Regions from separate parts of the Homo sapiens genome. Here region 1 is linked to region 2. Evidence: promoter capture Hi-C in 16 types of primary human blood cells and fetal thymus (Javierre and others, 2016). All regions are on one chromosome and are shown on one strand. Each heading gives the region's core, a stretch centred on a gene start or on the middle of the fragment in contact. The rest is flanking DNA. Distances are from core to core; before and after follow the strand shown. Region 1 has its middle 160 kb from the start of LINC01508. Region 2 holds the start of DIRAS2 (DIRAS family GTPase 2).

Region 1 (3,455 bases), core at 328-2,827, 370 kb after region 2:
TACTCTCTGTTCCTCGGTTACATAACTCACTTGAATAAGGTAATGTAGGCAGAATAATTGTCTCTTTAACATTAAAAACTTTTTAATGCATTTTTAGTGTCAGCATGGACCAGCTTCTCCCCCACAAGGATGCAGGGAAGAGGGACAGAGGTGTGTGTGAGGCTGGGATCCCCCACTGATGACATGGAATACCTCATCAGCAGTGCAGGGACTGTCCTCGTACAGTTCCACTGGGATGCTTCCCTCCACTTTCCTCTCACATCCACTCCATCTCATCTATGTTGAAAGTGTCTTCCAGGAAGCATCCCCAAGACAGAGTCACACACACACACACACACACACATGACTGGTAAAGGGTAGGGAATGGGAGAGGCAGGGAGAGCCATTGGCATGATGTGGGTTGGACAGCCCTGAAAGGAGAGTAGGAAGGAAAGAAGATGGGAAAAACCTCAGCTCACAGCGGAGCTCTGAGAAAGTCCTGGCCGGCTCGGTGGTGAGCTCCAATGCAAAGGTTGTTTAGAGAAGAATCCCACATTGCATAGAAATAACCAGACCCAAGGACATAGCCATGCTAAGTCACCAGGCTCCTTTGGTACAGTATGTTCTCAGCTCCAGTGTTGCAGCCAACAGCTCTCCTAACAGCTGAATGGCAGGTCACTTCTTGATGGTGAACCCACATGGCACATGCCTGGGGCTGCACAGCCTCCTGTGGAGTCCCCCGTGGAGTGAATGCAGCACTTTCTACCTGCTTCCTGCTTCCCAGAGCACCTAGGATTCTCTAAAATACTATGCACTTGAAGTGTTTGTTGTTTTTGCCCCTTTCCTTCACAAACACTAGAACAGCATTTCCATGAAGGAAGAATTTTTTTGGGGGTTGCACTTTCCCCTGCATCAAGAACTGTTCTTGGCAAACAATAGGTGCTCAAGAATTACTTGTTAAATAAATACAGAGAAAATGCCCGTTACTCGGTTCCTACAAGGTCCCTGGGCACGTGTTAGATTCTCCATACACATTTCTTATGATCACAAGTACCATGCAAGGAAAGCATTGTATCCATGAAACAGAGGAAAAGAGGAGGTCATAGAGTTTAAGTCCTCTGCCCGAGGCCACACAGTCCCGGATCACAGGTGAACATTGCCTCTGAGGCTGGCACATTTCCCATATTCCAGGCTGGCACACCATCAATCTGCATCAAGACAGCAATTTGGGAAGAGATTTTTCTCTTAATGGCACATTTCTTTGGGAGAGAAGCTATGTTATGTATTCCTCACATCACACATTGAGGAAGCACTCAGTTATTTTCTTTTCATTTTACAGGCTAGTATTTGTTCTCAATATATTCAGAAGCCATGGAAGCAGTTTGCCTGCTGAATCCAGAATGCTGTCTTGTGTTGTTATTTATTTGCCAGTGGTCTAAGAACCACATTTAAGCGGTTTAATTTTCTGCCACAGTTTTAGTTTGCCTCTGGGTAAATCCTCTGGATTCTAAAAATCAAGAGTTTTCCAATTTTCAGACCTGTCAAATCCACATGACTTATTTTCTTATCTAGACAATTGCTGATTTAAATAATGTTTCAAGCTACAAACAAGATAAAAAATGTATTTAATATTGATTTAAAACTTCAAATCTACAACACTTGTGTCAATACCTACCTAAAGAGATTTTTCCTTAAACATATAACCATGTTCCACAGTTTCATAATAAAATGAACTTAAGAAGTAATTTAAGGCTAGTTACAGATATTAGCCTACACGTGACCACACAAGGTGAATGTGACTATATTCCAGCAAGTGTAATAATTCATGAATCATCACCATGGTCTATGAGGGGCAGTCTGGCATCAAGGAATATATTTATATATACTGGGAAGGAATCATTTGTTTTCTCTCAAGTCTTTTAATAAAAAATTTTCAGTTAATGATTCCTCATCTTATTTCCTGCTTTCCCACATAAATTTCAATCTCCAGCTCCCCAAATATTTTTACCACCTTCTAGCAGCTTTTAAAGGTCTCTTACACAAAGAGGGAACACTAGCCACCTGCTGGAGGGTGGAGGTTGGAAGGAGGGAGAGGATGGAAAAACTGTCTATCGGGTACTATGCTTATTACCTGGGTGACAAAATAACCTGTACACCAAACCCCCACAACACATAATTTACCCATGTCACAAACCTGCACATGTGCCCTCGAACCTCAAATAAAAGTTAAAAACAAATAAAGATTTCTTTATCACTATTCCTCAGATAACCAACCGTTAGGGGCCTCTTGCTTCTATCAGACATTGGTCTGTTCAGCAGTAAGAGCCTGAATGAATATGTGCCCATGCTATGACTTAGCATGCTCATCAATCATAAATCATAACAACACACGTTAGCCATAGTAGCCCAAAACTCAAAACCACTCAAATGTCAAACAAAAAAAAAAACACTAGGCAATAGACTGTGAAGTGTTCATACCATGGAATTCTATTCTGCAGTGAAAACCAACAAGCCACTGCTGATACCACAACACAGTTGAATACAAAAAATACTGAGTGAGCAAAGGCAGACCAGAGGAATGCACATTTCATGTTATCATTACAAAGTGTGTAAGAAGACAAAACTAAAATGCAATGTTTAAAAATGCGTAAGTGGTACAAAGACTGTTGGTTTTAAAATGTGAACATTAATAGCACAACAGAGAGAGTGGTCACCTTTGGAAAGAGTAAATAGTCCTTTTTGTGTTGCTACAGAGGAATACCTAAGACTCAGCAATTTATAAAGAAAAAAGTTTTACTTGGCTCACAATTCTATCTGGAAAAGTTGAGGATTGGGTGTCTGGTGAGGGCCTCGGGCTGCTTCCACTCCTGATGGGAAGCTGAGGAGAGTCAGCATGTGCAGAGATCACACAGCAAGAGAGGAAGCCAGAGACAGGGGAGGTGCCAGGCTTTTGTCTTTTGTCTTAAACAGCTAGCCTTCATGGAAACTGAGTGAGAACTCACTGACCCCAAGAAAGACCATCAATCTATTCATAAAGGATATGCCCCATGACCTAAACACCTCATATTAGGCCCCACCTCCCATATTGGGGATTGAATTTCAATAGGAGATTTGGTGGAAACAAACAAACCATATCCAAACTATAGTAGGGAGCAAGAGTGGCTTCTTCTGCAAGGCTGATGAAGCTTATTTCTGGACCAGAGGCTGTGGCTACATGTGCACATTCACTCTGTGATAACTTGTGGAGGTGCGCATCGGCAGTTTGTGCAGTTTTAGGTATGCATGTTTTACTTTCTGTATGCAGAGTTTTACAAACTCTGACACTTGCAAACTCCACTGTGCTTACTCTCTCACTCTCCCTCCCTCCCCTCCCCTCCCTCTCCCTCCCCAGTTGTTTCTGTAACAATTTCCTCATCACGACATAAAGGAGGTGGATTAGATGATTTCTAAACCCAACTCCAGTTTTAGCGTTTTAT
Region 2 (3,445 bases), core at 184-2,683:
TCATGGAAAACAACATCCTGACTTATAAAACTGGAAGGTTGTTTCAGGACCCAGAAACTGCATCAGGCAGTGCTCAGAATCCACTGTCATCATATTTGGAGCCTCCTCTGGGATGGGTTTCTGAGTGGCCATATATTCCTTTGCAATGAAGAGGAGACTGTGGAGGACAGGGTGACCACTCTGCTTTTAGACATCATTAGTGTAGGGGCAGGTTTGTTGAAGTAGCCTTAAATGACTTTAGTAAAAAGAGTGTATTTTTATTTTTATATTCCAATGGCTGTAGGATCAAGGCCAGAATTAGGATGAACTGGGGAATAAAATAAGTTTTCTTGACTATAAGTTGTAAAATGCGTAGTTTTTAAGTATGATTTTTAAAAAGCATATTTCCTGTGAATAGCAGGGCAGAATTTTACTATGGAAATGAACTTCAAAGGTTAACATGTTTTAATTATTTAGAAAGTGAAGACGGGATTAAAACAGATAAATAGGATTCTACAACAAAAATCAAATGTAAAGAACTACAGAATATTAATTTTGCTCAAGTCTTTTAGCATATTTGGTATTACAAAAGAATGAGTAATATAACCAAGAGAAGAAATCTTCCTTCAGTCTGTAGTTTAAACTTAACATGGATCAATGTTATGCTCAAGCACTTTTAAAAATGCCTGCACAGAATTGTTAGCCATTAATATTTTTTCTTGCTGATTCACCTGTTTTTTAATCAACGCGTCTTTGACAAAATTGTTTATCAATGTCAGGAAATAAACGTGGTCATTTGCTTGAAATGCTAATGTGAAACCACTCAGTGAAAAAGCAATTCTAATCCAAGCTTGCCAATGGCGGTGTTGTCATAGGATCCTATTAAATTAGAATATATTAATCTACACTGTGTGGTTGGCTATGGTATGGGGCAGGGCATTTCGTCTGCCTTTAAATGAGTCGGTTTTTAAAAGTTAAAATCTGGAAATGGAAAAAAAAAGTCTATATGGTTAGTAGCGATTATAGTTCGCAATGCGAACAAAAGAATCTGGTTCCCTTTCAATGGAATTATTTTAATTCATTAAATTATCAGAAAATTCCAGTCCTCGCCATCTATTCCAAGAGCATGCAGTAGGTGGCACCTAAAAGCTCTTTGGAGGCGAACAGGCGCCATTTAAGCAGGAGCAGCAGCCTCTGCAGCAGTTGGCACATCTGAGAAGGCAGAGATTGAAGAGAGTAGGAGGAGCGTGCAGCGGCGGTGACAGTGCCAGGCCGGAGCGGCTCAGGCCAGCGCAGGTGCAGGGGCTGCGAGCGGGTGGAGCGCGAGGGCGCTGGGCGCAGGGAGCACGGCCGGTGGGCGGTGCAGGGCGCACGGCGGGCGAGCAGCTGACAGCATCGTCACGGCGGCGGGAGGGAGTGCGCTGCGCCTGCCTCCGGGAGGAGCCGCATCCACACACCCTGCGCTGCCCTGTCCTGCGCGAGTGGAGCTCTGAAGAAGCTCTGAGCGGAGTTGTGTTCTTCCCCAGGTAACCGATTTCCCCCTTCTGCCGTGGCTTCGCTGCGTCCGCATTGGGGCACGGGCGGCTTTGGCATGATTGTTTGCCAGCCCCTGGAAAGGGATTACCGCTCTCAGGGAGGGCGAGTCAGCGTGTACTGGAGTTGGTAAGAGGGGAAGAAATCTGCATTTCTGTATCCTTGTTAGGGAGGGTGAGCATCATGCTGTCCTTGTCTAAAACATGTTCTTTTTTAAAAATCTGTATCTTACGTATTATTAGGGATTCCTTCCAAAACAGGATTTACCGTTTTGGAAAATTCTACTGTGCAGGTGTTTCTGTTAATGTGGAAGTTTAATGGATTTAGGAAAAGAGTAAGAAGATGTGGTCTAAAGTGAGAAAAAAGCCAAGCACGCTAGGGACTGCCGTTTGGTTCGGCATGCTTTCATCCTCGACTCCTTCACTTCATGCGCTTGGCCGAGACCTGTCTAAATCTTTTGTTTGTCTTCTTAAAGAATGTGTTTCATGATATCTACATGTGCTCCTTTCCGCTTCCTTGTTGTAAGAGCAGAAGATGGGCAAGGGGCTGCATCCAGTCCTTAGTTGTAAGACTGTGGTTTCCCATCAGATGACAATGACTGCTGACAGCTCCCAGGCTCGCCTGAAAAGCAGTGCTGGCTTCTGGCGTTGTGGGAACCTGCCTCTCTCCTTCTCTCTTGAAAAATGCTGTTTTTCCTCTTTAAAACTCCAATTCACATTCTATGTGGGTTTGGGAGACTTTTAAACTAGAAGCTCTGTGAATCATCTGTTACATCCATTGAATGCTGGAATACAACATTGTGGTGGAATTCAGTTTCTTCCTACTGTGCAGAGACACAGCTTGCCTTCCCTAGGAATTTATTTTACATATTTGCCCTCGTTATCTTTTAAATGGATCCCTTCAGATGTGAGAAGCTAGTCCAGCATATCAGAACTTTTCTGCTTCAAACTAAAAATTTTCAAAAATATTATTTTTGAGGAAGATTTTCCAGGTAACGCTAAAAGTCTGGAGCATTTTACATTTCAAATCAGTCACAATGTGCTCCATTTCCAGTGACATTTGGATTTGAGGAGGTGGAGGGGGAGGGAGAGAAAAGGGGAGGATAAAATTAGAATAAATTTAACAAATTTGTAGGGGAATCATACTTTTTTTTCTTCTTGGTTGTTGTCTGAAATTGAAAATTGTCCACAATTTTATCTATCTCTGGAAATGCAGGAGGCTTTGTGGGCTGGGGACAGGAAGACACATAGTTCATTTTATAGAAATAAAAGATACAGTGGCAAGGAAACATTTTCATCCCATTTAACATATGGCATTTAATTTGGTAATAGTCCCGGGCAAGCACAGGGAAAGGAAGGAGAAAGGAGGGGGTATTGCTGTCTATACCAAGGCACAGAACTGCTGCTCACACTTCAGTGATCCCTGCAGATGGGAAGTATGTGTTCATGGTTATTGTAGAAACCTCCAGAATCTTTCTTTGTTACAGCTTTAATAGAATTGTTCCTAAGAGGCGACTCAGAAAACATACAGATTGAATGCCAAGTTGTGGAAGTCACTTTTCAGCTTGTGTCTAACAACCCAGCATTCTCAGCAAAGCAGTTTCCTCATGAGAAGAGTGGAGGAGACCTTTTTTTTAAAAAAATTATTTATTGTATGTTGTTCGTATCCTATACACCACACATGACTTTTACTGTATTGGAAATGTATTATTTCAGTGGTAAATACTGCATATCTTACTGAAAAATTAAAACCTTTTAAAAAACAACTGGGGTGCTTTTGTCAAAAAGAGAGTGTATCTGTGATAATAAAAAGTATTGTTCATTCTTCTTCTAATTTGGAGACCAGAGTTGATATGTTGAAAATTAACCTATTTATTTATGCAAAATCATCATTTCCCTGTGACAAATGCCATACATTTTTCCACCAGAGAATT

The links. Contacts are between HindIII fragments. The CHiCAGO score rates a contact against its expected background, and 5 or more counts as called.
Region 1: a contact is called between a fragment that was not itself captured here and the fragment with the promoter of DIRAS2 in region 2, in 1 of 17 cell types (M0 macrophages). The highest score is 5.4, in M0 macrophages.

The regions. Positions count from the first base shown.
Region 1 is chr9:90,269,597-90,273,051 of GRCh38, reverse strand. No RefSeq gene overlaps it. Among named protein-coding and RNA genes, the nearest start is that of LINC01508, 160 kb to the left of the region's middle. The HindIII fragment of the contact is 3,179 bases long and covers 1-3,166 here.
Region 2 is chr9:90,640,812-90,644,256 of GRCh38, reverse strand. It overlaps DIRAS2 (DIRAS family GTPase 2), which reads left to right and starts at 1,433. Exons shown (of 2, transcript NM_017594.5): 1 at 1,433-1,505. RefSeq lists a silencer at 1,445-1,494. The HindIII fragment of the contact is 14,084 bases long and covers 832-3,445 here.